Regions from separate parts of the Homo sapiens genome. Here regions 1, 2 and 3 are each linked to region 4. Evidence: promoter capture Hi-C in human tissues and cell types (Jung and others, 2019). All regions are on one chromosome and are shown on one strand. Each heading gives the region's core, a stretch centred on a gene start or on the middle of the fragment in contact. The rest is flanking DNA. Distances are from core to core; before and after follow the strand shown.

Region 1 (3,366 bases), core at 677-3,176, 43 kb after region 4:
GGTGGTGAAGGGAGGAGGGGAAGAAGAGGAGAGGAAAAGGTGGTGGAGAGGATTGTTCCTGAGCCCAGCTCTGGGTTCTGCCTGTTCCCGAACGCCAACCTTTGCTGCACTGCTCCCAGTGGGTGCCAACTCAGAATGCCTGTTTAAGTCACTCCACAAAACTCAGCTTCTCAATCTGTTTTATATTTGCAAGGGCCAGATCCACATTCCTTTTTTAAAAGTCAAGCTTCTGAGACAGTCATTTATATTCACAGTGATTCTCCTTTCAAAGACTGCTTTGCATGGGGCGTGTAGAGTCATGGATCTTAGGGACTCTGCCAGGAAAGGCTCAGGGTCACACAAAGACCCCGTGATGGTGTCTGTGTTGTAGAGGAAGACCGAGGAACTCTCCAATATGCCTGGGTGGAGGTATCTTCAAATGGACAGGATGCGTGGCCGGAGCCTGCCGTCCATCCACTGAAAAGTCACTTTCTGAAGTGACCCCTGGACAAAGGATCCTTCTTCCTGGGAAGAACAGCTGGTTATGGATGCTTCAGATGTTTGTGTGCATGGAGATTGGACTTTGCAACACCCACACTTTGAAATATTCTGGACAGTTAGTTAAAAAGCATCAGGTGGCCCACACCTATAATCCCAGCACTTTGGTAGGCCGAGGCAGGAGGATTGCTTGAGCCCAGGAATTCGAAATGAGCCCGGGCAACATAGCAAGACCCTGTCTCTACAAAAAACTTAAAAATTATCTGGGCCTGGTGACTCGTGCCTGTGGTCCCAGCTACTCAGTGGGCCAAGGCGGGAGAATCACCTGAGCCCAGGAAGTCAAGGCTGCAGTGAGCTGTGATGGCACCACTGCCTCCGGCCTGGGGGACCTAGTGAGACCCTGTCCCCCAAAAAGGTTTAAAAAGCAGGAGGGGCCAGGTGCAGTGGCTCACGCCTGTAATCCTAGCACTTTGGGAGGCAGAGGCAGGCGGATCACTTGAGGCCAGGAGTTCGAGACCATCCTGGCCAACATGGTGAAACTCTGTCACTATAAAAATACAAAAATTAGCAGGACATGGTGGCAGGTGCCTGTAATCCCAGCTACTTGGGAGGCTGAGGTAGGAGAATCGCTTGAACTCGGGAGGTGGAGTTTGCAGTGAGCCGAGATCCTGCCACCGCACTCCAGCCTGGGTGAGAGAGTAAGACTCCATCTCAAAAAATAAATAAATACATAAAATAAAAAGCATGAGGTAGGTCCATATGCACTGCTGGGAAAGATGTCTGAACAGTGTTGTTAAGTGAAAAAAAGCAAACCGTAGCACAATATGTACATATATACACCATTTATGGCAAAAACACACACAAAGCCACACTGTATGTCCTCTATTTACATATTTGTAAGTTCATATCTAAAAGTCTGAAAGGAATTATGCCAATGATCGCAGTTCGGAGTGGACTGGATTGGGGCGACTTTCAAAGGAATCTTCACTTCCACTGTATTGTTTGAAGTTTTTTCCTGTGAGAATGCATTCCTGTGTACTTGTGTAATTTAAAGAGATATATGGATTTAGAACTGGGAATCTATATGGTTTACCCTGAGCTTCTGGGATTTTCTTTTTTATTTATTTATTTATTTATTATTATTATACTTTAAGTTTTAGAGTACATGTGCACAATGTGCAGGTTAGTTACATATGTATACACGTGCCATGCTGATGCGCTGCACCCACTAACTCGTCATCTAGCATTAGGTATATCTCCCAGTGCTATCCCTCCCCCCTCCCCCCTCCCCCCTCCCCACAACAGGCCCCAGAGTGTGATGTTCCCCTTCCTGTGTCCATGTGTTCTCATTGTTCAATTCCCACCTGTGAGTGAGAACATGCGGTGTTTGGTTTTTTGGGATTTTCATTTTTATTTCTTTGAGTGATTATGTTAAGTGGCTTACCCAAAAAAGTTCACTGGACATCTCAAAAGGTTATTTGACAGATGATTTAAAAAAAATTATACTGCCATTTTTATGCATGTGCTTAAATATCTCAAATTGTTTTCTAAAATTGGTTGGGAATATATTTGCTTTTTTCCCCCCTTTATCTTGCCCCATCCCCTTCCCAGCCTCTGGTTACTGCCAATCTTGTCTCTGTCTTCATGAGATCCAATTTTCTGGTTCCCACGTATGAGTGAGAACATAATGATATTTATCTTTCTATGCTTGGCTTATTTCACTGGACATAATGGTCTCCAGTTCCATCCATGTTGCTGCAAATAACAAGATTTCATTCTTTTTAATGGCTAAATACTATTCCATTGTGTGTATGTACCGTATTTTCTTTATCCATTTATCCACTGATGGGCACTTAGGTTGATTTCACATCTTGACTATTGTGACTAGTGCCGCAATAAACGTGGGAGTGTAGATATCTTTGTAATACGCTGGTTTCCTTTCTTTTGGATATATACCCAGGAGTGGATCATATGGTAGTTCTATTTTTAGTTTTTTTGTGGAATCTCCATACTGTTCTTCATAGTGGCTGTACTAATTTACATCCCCACCAACAGTGTACAAGAGTTCCCCTTTCTCCATATCCTTACTAGCATCTGTTATGCCAGACAGACTATTTATAAGTGAATTATATTTGTAGTTTAGGCCAGAGGTCAGCAGACTTTTTCGTAAACGACCATGGAGTAAATATTCTAGGCTTCATGGACAAAAAGGTCACTGTGGAAGTCACTCAATTGCCATCATAATGTGAAGGCACCCACAGATGATACAGAACAGGCGTGGCTGTGTTCCAATAAAACTTTATTTCCAGGAACAGGTGGCTGGAGGGTGTGGTCCATGGGCCACAGTTTGCCGAACACTGGTTTAATGGATTGCAAGACACAGATGGGTATGGAAATGGAGGAAGATGGCAAATGGAAATGTGTTGGACATTTAATCAGAACTAGCATGTCGAAAGGATTGTTTGAGTATCTTCAAAACTGAAAAAAAAAAAAAGCTTTTCTCAAGTGCAATCCTGTAGCCTCTTCCTGCTGGACCAGGGTGAGGCTGGGGCCGCAGAACCCAGGAGCAGTGTCCCCCAAGGAACACTTCCTCTGTGACTCCTGATGGGTAGAGGGTGGAGGGGATGGGCAGGCCTTCCTCAAGCCTGAGTTTGCACATGGTTCACACTCAGTGGGCATCCGGGAAAGTGATCAGGGCCCCAGTGGCCCACCCAGCTCTGGGCAGGCAGCAGACAAGGTCAGACTGGGGTGGACAAATGACAAAATGACATCCTCAGGTTTGGGAGGGGACAAGTGGTGTCTCTGCAGCTGGAGGCCGAAAGGCAGGCCTCTGGCTCCGGGACGGGGTGTCGGAAACGGCTGTGCCCCACACAGCTTTCTCGTGGATCA
Region 2 (3,928 bases), core at 437-2,936, 63 kb after region 4:
AACAAACCCTCAGCTCCCTGAAACATAGATGACCTTTTTAAAATTCCAGGTTCATGGAGTGCCTCTCTCCAGATGGCCCCAAACACTTCCATCTATTAACTCGTGCTCATTCAACGTGCAGCAGAGGCTATTGATCACCTTCCCTGTGCCGGGGACTGTGCTAGGTGCTGGGAATACAAAGATGGGGAGAGGCCTCGATGCGATTCCCGATTCAGAGGCAGGTGGCAAATGCTTTTCCCACAGTGAGGGAAGGGCTGTCACCGCGATGGTGCTCTCAGGGAACCAAGGTTCACACATTCAGGGAATTCGGGGCACTGAGTCAGCATTCTAGACTCTGCCAGGATGAGGAGGAGCAGGGGACTCAGTTTCTTTACATGCAGAATGACTGTCCCCTGCCCTGCCCCACTGGCATAAAATGTCCTCAACATGTAAGAAGCCCTGGGCAGAGATAGTGTCCAGGGTGTGGTCAGTTGACGTGGCCTGTCAGTCTTTGGCCACGCTCTCAGGCCCCCCTCGCTGTGGCTGTGTGTTTGCAGGCGCCCCTCAGACTCCAACTGGAATGTGTCCGTGATGGTGGGAGGCCGGGCTGTGGTGCTCCTAGTAGGGCTATGGTGGCAAGCTTTAGGACCTTGTGAGCCTGATTCACCCGGTAATCTCCACCTCGGAACGCCCTTTCTCCCCGCTGCAGAGCATGGGGCTGGGGGGGAGTGGAGAGAACCCTGCCTTGTAACAGGGCAGCGGACAGCAGGTAAATTGCCTTCCCCGGGAGTAGCGTGCCGCCCGGCAGGGGCCTGGGTGTGCCAAGGCCCGGCTCTGGGGATTTCAGGACCCAGGCCAGCGCTCCCCAGCAGCAGGGCAGGAGGCAGCCTGAGAGTCGGCAGCCCCGCCTTGGAGTCTGAGCACTCGCGCCCATCCGTCAACCTTGCAGAGCATTGCAACTTTATGCCTACGCATAAAAACTGGAGGGACTCGTCCCAGAGTTTGCTGCCGCCGCCGCCGCTGCCATTAGAGCGGTTTTAATTAGCTGCAGGATTTTTAATGAGCTGAAATCAAGAAGAGCCCCATCTCAGAAGTAAGCGAGAGCCGCGCGCAGGGAAGAACTAGTCTGACAAAACAGAAGGAGGTGGTGCTCTCGGGGGACTGGGCTGTAGGCTCCCACCGATCGATCGGCGACGAGCAGATGAGTTCCCGAGGCCAGGAGGCTGAGGAGGGAAGCCAGGGCTCAGAGACCAGCGCCCGGTGCAGAGTCCCCGCTGCTGCCACCGCGGCAGAAGGCACGGTGCCGGATTCAAGGTGACGGCAGTGCCTGGCTCCATTCTCCTCAAGTTGCCATAGCAGCCTCTCTCCCAACAAGCAGCTTCTCCGGGAGCCCTCAGCCGGGAGGGACGTCATTGTTCTCTCCTGCCCGTGTGGTGCAAGGAGACCCACCGGACAGAGAACTTTCCCGAGCCCGGGGTCCGCTGACCACGTGGGTGCACCCATGCTGCCTGGAGCCAGGCACAGGGACAGGTCCCCACGGCCACAGGGAATCCTCTGGGCAGCTGAGGGGAGCGTCCAGGCCCAGAAGCAGCTGCAGCCAAGCGTGTCCTTGGAGCCGTCCATGCGTCTGTCCGCCTGCTGCCGGTCGCCACTGGAGGTGCGTGTGTTTTGGCTGAATTCCCAAGTCCTTGCTTGTGCCCTGAAGTGAATTTCTTCAAAGAGACACATTTTTAAATCAAATAAATAAGGAAATGGGAGGAATCCTTCGCCCTGCCCTGTGTCCCAGGAGGGGTTTATAAGATTAATTGGATCTTTTTTTTTTTTTTTCTTAAAGTAAAAATTGGTGACGCCATTCAGGCCTGGGGGAGAAAAGCCACCAGGAGGACTAGGAATTGTGAGGCCAGGCAGGAGCTGCTGGAAACTCGCTGGGGCTGTTTATTTTTCTTGCCTGAACCCTCCCTCTTCTCTGCCCCTGGAAGGCTGGATTTTCTTATTGTCTGTTGGTCTTGGGATGGGTGTAAGCAGGTGAAGGCAGGTTTTGCCCTTGTCATCGGAGCTGAGAGTGATATAGTCTGTGATGAGGATGGGACAGTCCCAGGTGGAGGCTGAGGCCTGTGACTGTGTTTATGCCTCATCCCCCAGCCTTCCAGGCCCCAGCCTGTGACAGATGGTGGTGTCCACTCCCCAGGCAGCAGCTGGACTCCCAGGAGAGGGAGACAGACAGCTCTTAGACCAGCAGCTCCTGTTGCCTTGAAAACAACGTGCGACTTGGAAGCCTGGGGTCCTCCGAGGAACAATAGAGGATTCTACACCCCCTGGAATGCCCGGGGATCTGTCGGTGACCACCCTCCCTTCCCACACCTTAGGGGAAAGGAGTGTTCTATAGAGTCCAGTTGGCCAGCCATACTGCTGGCCAGTTACCCAGGAGGGGAGGCACGCTGACCTTTTGATTCCTGTTTGCACGGAGCAGGGAGTTAGCTGGTCAGATGGTCCCCAGTGAGAACAAACACAGAGCTGAGGGTCCCAGAGGGAAAAGCTGGGGTCTGAGGCTTAGGGGCTAAACCCTGAAGCCACAGACGGCTCCAATGCCAGCTTCCCTGGGTATAGAGAGAGGGTGTTCGTGTTCTCTCGGGGGCCAGCAAAGGCAGGGTCTTTGAAAGGGGAAACGTGAACAGATGAAGCTCCACCACCATGGAGGTGTGGTCCTGGGTCTGTGTCTTCTTCCCCTTCCTGGATTTGGGGGCATGGATCTGGTCCTTGCCCTGGCTCCCAGGCACATGGGTGGCTGGAGCCAGGCATCATGGGGTGGGTTTGGTTTGGGGCGGTTCAGAAACAAGTGAGGACAGGTCTTCGCTGCAGACCCATTTAGTCCTTGACAGTGGATGTCGGTACTGGCTCGAATGGAGACAGACTGGGGAGAAGAGAGGACCGGCCAGCTCTCTTGTAACCACTCTGCAGCGCCAGCTACTGAACAAATGAGATGATGATCACACATGCTCCCGAGTCCCCTTTGTTCATCAGGTAGAGCCTGATATTGAGGGACCCATTATTAGCTGTTTTACCAGGCAGTTCTGGGCGCTAGCCATGAAGCTGTTCTCCTTCCTCTCTCCCTCCTTCCAAAATGTCTTGATGTTGGAGGCTACCCTAGGTCAAACTGGCTTCCCGGTGTCTGACTCAGGAGGCTGCAGGAAGCGCACCCACACCGTGGCCAGCTTACTCAGGGGCTCGCGACAGTTGCTTTCCAGCTGGGGCCTTGCTGGGGACCATCGATGGTATGTGTGCAGGCACTGGCCGGCATGCACCCGGGCATGTATGCATATGTGTGTTATTGAACCCGCGTCTGCTTAGGTCCGTGGGTGCGGTGCACATGTGAACACCGTCCCCATGACCGTGCAATAGCAGCTGCTCCCGAGAGACCTTGCAGGTTCTTCCTGGTCCCCATCTGAGAGCCATGGCCCCCCTGTGTCGGTGCGTGACATCTTTTCCATTCTTCTAACTCCTTTCTATGACTGCCTGGGGCTCCCCCGAGTGAGGCTGGAGAGAACAGCTTTGCCTGCCTTGTCAGCTGCTCACTCTCTCCTGAGGCTTTGGGGCTGGCCCCGGTGGGGCTGGGACTCTGCAGTGCAGTGCTGTCCTCACAGAGGGAAGGGCTTGGGGGACGGTAGGGCATCGCAGCCTGCTGTGGGGCTTACAGTGCTGCATCTGTGTCTTTGCAAGGCAGTGAACCCCAGGTCCTCAGGATGGCCTCATCCAGGGCAGCCATGGAGAGAGAGGCCCCAGCCCCGCACAAGGGGCTTTGAGTCTGAGCCCTTGGGGACACATGAGTGTCCATTTCTACTCTTTGCAGGCAAGGCAGGGGTGGCCTCGGTGGATGACAGGAAGCAGCAGTTTGTCTTTAGGGCAGAGGCCATTGCAGTGAGGTCGGAGCCAGCCTGACACCCCGGAGCCA
Region 3 (3,737 bases), core at 117-2,616, 39 kb before region 4:
ATGGCAGAGTCAAAGGACTAACACTGTTATCGAAGAAGTGGGTTTGTCACACAGGGGGAATCTGGCCCTCTCTTACTCTCACTGTCTCCCCCTCTCACCCTCTCTTTGCCCTTTAGCCATATTGTGAAGCAGCAAGAAGGCTCTTATGAGATGCTGACCTTGTTGATCTTGAACTTCCCAGCCTTCAGAACCACGAACCAATAAATTCCTGTTCATTATAAATTACCCAGTCTGTGGTATTCTGTTACAGCAACACAAAATGGACTAAGACAGTCTTCTCTGCTGTCTCTCCCATAGGCAGTTCTGCCAGATCCCCCAAAGCCCACCAATCCCCTCACCCCAGGGCTCCAGAAGAGGTTATGTCCTCTTTGGAGGTGGACCCATCCTGATGGCCTTGGACCTGTGGCTCCCTGGGCCTCCCATCAGCCCCTCTATTTGGAGAGTCACTGCAGCCAGGAGCCCCAAGAAGGGACTTCTCAATTCCCCAATAGTGGACACTGTGTTGCTCCACCCAGATCTCCTCTCCAGGGGCTGATGCCACTATGCTGGTCGGGGTTCTCCAAGGAGACAGAGCCAACAGATAGATAGATGATGATAGATAGATGATAGATAGATAGATAGATAGATAGATAGATAGATAGATAGATAGATAAACACACATGAGAGAGAGAGAGAGATAACAGAAGTCAGGCACAGTGGCTCACACTTATAATCCCAGCACTTTGGAAGGCCAAAGTGGGAGAATCGTTTGAGCCCAGGTTCAAGACCAGCCTGGGCAACACAGTGAGACCCCCATCTCTACAAAAGATCTGTATGTATGTACGTATGTATCTATTATCTACATGAGATTTTTTAGGGGAATTGTCTCGTGGTTATGGAGGCTGAGGTTTCCCATCCTCAGCCACCTGCCAGCTGGAGACCCGGGTATGTTGGGAGTGTGACTCACTCCAAGTCTGAAAGCCTCAGAACCAGGAAAGCTGGTGGTATAACTCTCAGTCCGAGGCTGAAGGTCTGAGAACCTGGGCTGGGGGCCACTGGTGCAAGTCCTACAGTTCAAAGCCTGGAGAACCTGGAGTTCTGATGTCTCAGGGCAGGACAGTAGGGATGTGTCTGCTCCAGGAAAGAGAGTGAATTCACCTTTCCTCTGCCTTTTCGTGCTATCCAGGCCCCCAGCCAATTGGTGGTACCCACCCACATTGAGGGCGGATCTTCCCAACTCAGTCCATTGACTCACATACCAGTCTCCTCTGGAAACACCCTCTCAGACACAACCAGAAATAATGCTCTCCCAGCCGTCTAGGTGTCCCTTAATCCAGACAAGTTGATGCCTAAAATTAACCATCATGGCCATTATCCCCATGGGAGCTGGGAATATCCCTGCCTTCTTCCCTGGGAATTCCCTTGGCACCCGGGAAGCACCTTTCCTAAGTTTATGCCTCCTGTGGGGTGATCCTGTATCCAGCGACTGGCTGATGTGGGAGTACAAAGCCCTGCCCCTCACCTCAGTTTGGGGCAACTCTGAAGGCGTGTCCAGCTCCAGGGCTCCCCCAGGCCTGGCTGAGGCCTAGCTGTAACTGCACTGGGGGGTCGCCTTCCCTCTCTGCCCACCCTCGCCCTCCCCGCTTCCCTATAGGGGGTCTCTCCTGAGAGCCATCAGTGTAAACCTCCTGCCCCAAACTCTCCACCTCAGCTGCTTCCAGAGAACTCAGCCTAAGATGCCTTTGGGCTCTGGGGCCAGGTGGCTGTGAGCACAGGGGGCACGGGCTTGCATCCTCTTGGAATTTTCACTGCAAACTCAGAGTCCTGACTTTCACAGGTCTGGCCGTCTCATGGGTCTGGCCCCATAGGCCTTCCCTAGCTCAGCCCTTGGGCAGCAGACTCCCTTTGTAATAGACACTGTGGCTCCTCTTCGATGCCCTGTTCCATACTGGGCACCTCTGCCCTGGATTCCACCATCTGTACCTGCCACTCCTCAGAAGATCACCCAGGGTTAGGGAGCTGCCCTGCCCACAGGTGCAGAGAGTCTTAAGTTCCTGGAAGCTGATGAGAGCCTGGGCAGTGCTTAGTCAATGACTGACAGGTGCAGGAGTAGGAAAGCCCAGCTCCATTGCCTCAAGGTGAGGACAGCCGGACTTTGCCTGAGATCCCAATCTTGATTGACTTCTTACTCTTCCCTGGCCTGATCCCCCCTACCTTTCTAGCATCAGGGACTAGTTTCATGGAAGACAATTTTTCCGTGGATGGTGGGGGAGGGGAGATCAGGGATGGATTGGGGATAAGTCTGTTTCACCTTAGATCCTCAGGCATTAGTTAGATTCTTATAAGAAGCATGCAGCCTAGATCCCTCACATGCACAGTTCACAAAAGAGTTCACACTCCTATGAGAATCTAATGCCACCGCTGATTTGACAGGAGGCAGAGCTCAGGCAATAATGTTCACTCACCTGCCACTCACCTCCTGCTGAGGCCATGAACCAGTACTAGTCCATGGCCTGGGGCTTAAGAACCCCTGCTTTATAACTCATTTGCCCATGAATGTCGATCTCAGGCTTCTCTAGGGAACCCCACCCAAGACACTTCTCTCAACAAGAGAAAAAAATGGAGTCCAGACAGCGCCAACATATATACACACATTCAAGCCTGGGGGGCTTGCATCTTGTAGTTTGCATGTTTATTTCAGGCCGGGAAGGACTTTCTCCCACCCAAGGATCCGCCATGTGAGAATCACTCATCCGCATTTCCTTCCATTATTTTTGAGAGCTTCATTTGTTATGATTAAAGCTTTAATCCACTATTGGAATTTATTTTGGTGCATGGTGTTGAGAAGGAAACCAATTTAATATTTTTCATAAAACAGTTAACTAATGATCACAGCACCATTTATTTATTTATGTAGTTTTTAAATTAAAAATGAATTAGAACATGAAATGATCTCCAAGATATTATTAAGTAAAAGGAAAAACAAAGTGCAGGATAGTGTGTATAATAAGCTCTTATTTATTTATTTATTAAATACATAAAAGGAGGCTGAGCGCGGTGACTCATGCCTGTAACCCCAGCACTTTACCAAGGGGGAATATTGCTTGAACCCAGGAGTTCAAGACCAGCCTGGGCAACCTAGTGAGACTCCCATCTCTAAAAAATTAAAAATTAAAAAAATTAAGGTTGACCGGGCACGGTGGCTCACGCCTGTAATCCCAGCACTTTGGGAGGCCGAGGTGGGCGGATCTCAAGATCAGGAGATTGAGACTATCCTGGAGAACATGGTGAAACCCTGTCTCTACTAAAAATACAAAAAAACTTAGCCAGGCGTGGTGGCAGGCACATGTAGTCCCAGCTACTCGGGAGGCTGAGGCAGGAGAATGGCGTGAACCTGGCAGGTGAAGCTTGCAGTGAGCCGAGATCACGCCACTGCACTCCAGCCTGGGCGACATAGTGAGACTCTGTCTCAAAAAAAAAAAAAAAAAAAAATTAAAGTTGTACATGTCTGTAGTCCCAGCTACTAGGGAGACTGAGACAGGAGGGTTGATTAAGCCTGGGAACTCGAGGCTGCAGTGAGCCATGATCATGCCACTGCACTCACTCCAGCCTGGGTGACAGAGTGAGACCCTGTCTCAAAACAAAACAAAATAAAACATACATATAAGGCCATCTATAGGCATGGACAGTTTCTATAAGGTTTTGTAGAAACTGTTGATAGTGGTTGCCTCCCGATAGAGGGCCAGGGCTCTGAAGTG
Region 4 (3,706 bases), core at 20-2,519:
ATCTCTTTGTCATGCTTCTATTTATCTTCTTATCTGTCCTGGTCTATTTTTGGATGCTCTGAGCTTACCTGGGGCATTAAGGAGGCCTCATGGCCCTGGGGCTGAGGGGCTCCCTGGCCGTCCCCAGGAGTGGCTCTGCTCTCCGCCTGGTGTCCCCCACTCTGGTCAGTCAAGACCCATGGGCCCAGCTCACTCCCCAATTCCATCACTCACTCTAGGTCAGCTGGTAGGAGTCAGGCCAACCAGCCAGCAGGTACCATTAGAGAGGAGAGAGTAAGGGTCTTTCACTTTATTAAAGGCTTCTCTGCTGTTGTTTGAAAATACTGAGTGTCCCTTCAAGACTAACAGGTGACTGTGTGCACAGTTTCCTCCAGCTCCTGTGAGAAAGCAGTTGCCCCCCTTCCCAAGGCCTGCTTGTCCCCTGCAGGCTGGGGCTGCCTCTTCTTAGGAAGAACAAGGACCCGAATCCAGGGCCCCGTGTTCCTGTCCCTACTCTGTCCCGGTGCTGTGTGGCCGTGGGCCGGTTCCACCCTCCACGCTGTTTTCCCGAGTGTGTATGAAGAGGGTCGGTTGGCCCCGCTCTCAGGCTGGTGACCCGACACAAACTTCCAGGATGAAGTCCTGAAGGGAGCACCTGTTCGCAGGGCACTTTCAGCAGAATCTAGAGCCCCAGGGATTTGAGGATGGATGCGGACACCCGGGCCTGAGGCAGCTCGCGGCCTTGACCGAATTCCACGCGAGCTGAAGCCCAGGGATATCCCAGAATCTTCCTCAGGATCAATCTTCCGCCTTTCACCGGCCCTGCGCCCCCGCAGCATCGGGTCCTGGGCGCGCGCCCCTGCCCCGCTGTGGTCAAGGCCCGCCCCGGTGACGCCTGGTCCTTTTCCCGGGTTGGCGCCGCGTGCGACCCACCGAGGCAGTGGCAGCACTGGCCGCGGTCTGGAGCCTAGCGTCAGGCCGGAGTCCGGCTCTCCTGAACCGGGAGACCGGCGCAGCCCCAGCCACGACCGCTCCCACCCCCGCGGCCGCCGGACCGCGCCCAGCAGCGACTCTTTCTGAGAGCGCTGCCAGAGGGGCCGCGGGAGCCGCAGAGCGCGCGTGGGCGCGGCGCCCGCGAGCCCCCGGGAGGGCCGAGTGCATCGCTGGAGCGATCCCCGCCCGGCCCGGCCACCGCCGTAGCCGCCACCACGGCGGGGCGGGGCACGGGCCGGGGGCGGGGCGCCGGGCGGGCGCGGCGCTATTTCCAGCCTCGCCGGAGGCTTCGCTCTCACTTCGCTGGGAGCCTTCCCGGCGCGCAAGCCGGATCCGGCAGTGCTGCGGGGAGGAGAGAGGACGAGGCGGCGGCGGCAGCAGGAGGTGGGGGACCGATCGCGCCGGGGGCCGAAGAGGAACGCCGCCCCGCGCCCTCTCGCTCCCCGCACGCTCCGGCTGCCGGCCCCACGCTGCTCGCCCACAGATCGCACTGGGTTCCGCTTGGAGCGGGCGGAGGCACCGGGCCCGAGCTGGGTCGGAGGTCCTCTCCGCCGCCTGCGCGCCCCAAGCAGAGGATCCGCCGCGGAGAACCGCTCCCGGACTGGAGGCGCCCGCGGCCTCGGGTGCGTCCGCTGCGCCAGGTAAGTGGCTGCGCCCCTGCCCCACCCCTGTTCCCGCCCTGCGCAGGCTCCTGGCCTGCAGAGACGCCAGGAAGGGGTCCCGAGCGGGCCCCGGACTGCACCGCTCGCCATCCCCGCCACCGCACGCGAATGGGAGTCCGAAGCTGCGGGCGGAGGTGGGCGCGCGGGGCTCGGGTCTGGTTGCACTTTGGGGACCGGCCCCGGTAGCGGGAACTTTAATTAGACTTTCTCTCCTTGGATCTCACTCGCTGCCGCGCTTCTGGGAACTGCCGTCCCTCGGGCCCTCTTGGTCCCTGCGGACTCCCGCTCCGCCTCCTGGCCCTCGGTGCTGCCCGCGGGGAGGCGGCGTCGGGCGCTGAGCAGCGAGCGCCGAGGGCCAGGCAGGAGCGCTCGGGGCGCTGGGGCTTCCTGGCGCGCTCGGAGCCGGGGCTCCGGACGGGTTGCGGCGGGCAGAGACTATGGGGGAAGTTTAAGTGGCCTTGGCTTCCTACCCAGCGGCTCCGTCGCGCGCGTCCCCGACCCGCAACTCTCCAGGGCACCGGCCTGTGAGTGCTGGAGGCGAGTGTGCGTGCGTCAGCGATGGTGTGAAGGTGTGTGCGTGCGTGTGTCGGGAGTGCGGGAGTCGGAGCCTGGGGCGGCTCCAGGGGGCGGGGAAATGATCCGTTTGGCCGCGGGACCGAGCCGAGCTCTGACGGCGGCTGCAACTCCGGCTACCGACTCTGCAGACCCGCTCTGGCCTCGCTGGAGGCCAGCCGGGCCAGGAGGGCGATCACGGGTTTTGGCAGTGCCCGATGCTGGGGCTTGGGTCTGATGTGACCCCGATTCCTTCTCCAGTGCGGGACTCCCGCCGCCCTAACTTTCGCGTACATCTTGTCTCCAGGCCCGCGACCCCGACCCGGAGTTGAAGCGGCTGCGGCGCCCTCGGCTGTGGGCGCTGCTGCCCGGCTGTCTGTTTTAACCCAGAAGTAGGCGCCGATCCTGGGGCTCTCTGTCCTGCAGTCGTCTCCGGCGTCCCAGAGGACTCTGCGTCCCTGGGCCACTCCCGCTGGCTCAGGAGCCGTGATCAGCTCCGTTAAGGGGAACGCGCGTCCCGGCCCCTCTCCATCTGCTTGGCGCGATCTGGCGCAGCAGCAGAGCACGTGGGAGAGGCGTTGGGTGCAGGGAGGTAGTAGCTGCTTTGGAGTGGATGGTGGAGAGGGGCGGGGGACAGAGGGGTAAGAGGCAGATCAACCCCCTTTTATTTCCCACCGCCGCCCAAGGCCCCCAGGAGCTACAATACCAAGCCCACTTTCCTGGGTAACCTTTCTCTTCTGAGTTCACCTTGACCCTTGCCTACCTGTGGGGAAGTCTTTCCCTAAGTCCTGCCCTAGGACAGGGCACCCGTGGAGCAGGTGTGGCAGAGCCCTTAACATTTTCCAGCTGTCATGACCTTTCCTGCCCACCCTGTGCCCTGTCCCAAAGGCAAGGCAGACAGGCCACAGGAAGGACACTCATCCCAGCAGGAGATCCTCTTTTAATTTTAATCAGGACACCCCAAGCACAGAAGGCGGCGTGGGAGTTCATTCAGGAGCGTTCAGCAGACTGGCCTCTGTGAAGTGACCCACGGGAGGAATAACATTGGAACCCTGAAGAGAGGGACCTCTTGAGGGTCTGAATGTTGGTTCCAGTGGGACTGGCTGATCAATTATCCAATAGCATTTGAACACAGAAAAACCTCAAAGCCGGAACCTGACCCATTGCCTGGCCCAGTCGCCCTGGGACACACAAACAGTGCAGCTCATTTATTTACTTATTTATTTATTAACCTGGAATCAGACTCGGCAAGAGTGAATTATGTTTCCCGGGTATTGATTTTTAAAAAGACCCCAAATTAAAAAGTCAAGGCTTTCTTAAAGCAAGGTCAAGGATTAATTATTTATCGAGAGGCATCCATCAGGCAGCGTGGGGGCTCATTTATAAATTGCCTGAGCAGGCAAAATGAGCATCTTTTGATTTTCCTTGGCTCCAGTTGGGAGAGGAGAGCAGGCTCGTCTGACCTCCTGGGCTTGGTAGAACATCCCCCTCGGACTGTAACCGACGACAGAGGATGCTTT

Evidence for each region. The method cuts DNA at HindIII sites, captures the fragments that hold promoters and counts their contacts. A contact is called where the count stands out against the background at its distance.
Region 1: a contact is called between a fragment that was not itself captured here and the fragment with the promoter of CHST8 in region 4, in 3 of the 25 tissues and cell types used here (H1 embryonic stem cells, dorsolateral prefrontal cortex and spleen).
Region 2: a fragment that was not itself captured here is called in contact with the fragment with the promoter of CHST8 in region 4 in 7 of the 25 tissues and cell types used here (H1 embryonic stem cells, dorsolateral prefrontal cortex, neural progenitor cells and 4 more).
Region 3: a fragment that was not itself captured here is called in contact with the fragment with the promoter of CHST8 in region 4 in 9 of the 25 tissues and cell types used here (H1 embryonic stem cells, bladder, dorsolateral prefrontal cortex and 6 more).

Annotation. Positions count from the first base shown.
Region 1 is chr19:33,662,680-33,666,045 of GRCh38, forward strand. All of the region lies in intron 1 of CHST8 (carbohydrate sulfotransferase 8), which reads left to right. Among named protein-coding and RNA genes, the nearest start is that of CHST8, 42 kb to the left of the region's middle. The HindIII fragment of the contact is 6,325 bases long and covers 1-3,366 here.
Region 2 is chr19:33,683,564-33,687,491 of GRCh38, forward strand. All of the region lies in intron 2 of CHST8 (carbohydrate sulfotransferase 8), which reads left to right. Among named protein-coding and RNA genes, the nearest start is that of CHST8, 64 kb to the left of the region's middle. The HindIII fragment of the contact is 7,407 bases long and covers 1-3,928 here.
Region 3 is chr19:33,581,896-33,585,632 of GRCh38, forward strand. No RefSeq gene overlaps it. Among named protein-coding and RNA genes, the nearest start is that of CHST8, 38 kb to the right of the region's middle. RefSeq lists an enhancer at 1,170-1,671. The HindIII fragment of the contact is 3,433 bases long and covers 1-3,083 here.
Region 4 is chr19:33,620,684-33,624,389 of GRCh38, forward strand. CHST8 (carbohydrate sulfotransferase 8) reads left to right here and starts at 1,270. Exons shown (of 5, transcript NM_001127895.2): 1 at 1,270-1,613. RefSeq lists an enhancer at 231-975. The HindIII fragment of the contact is 24,734 bases long and covers 1-3,706 here.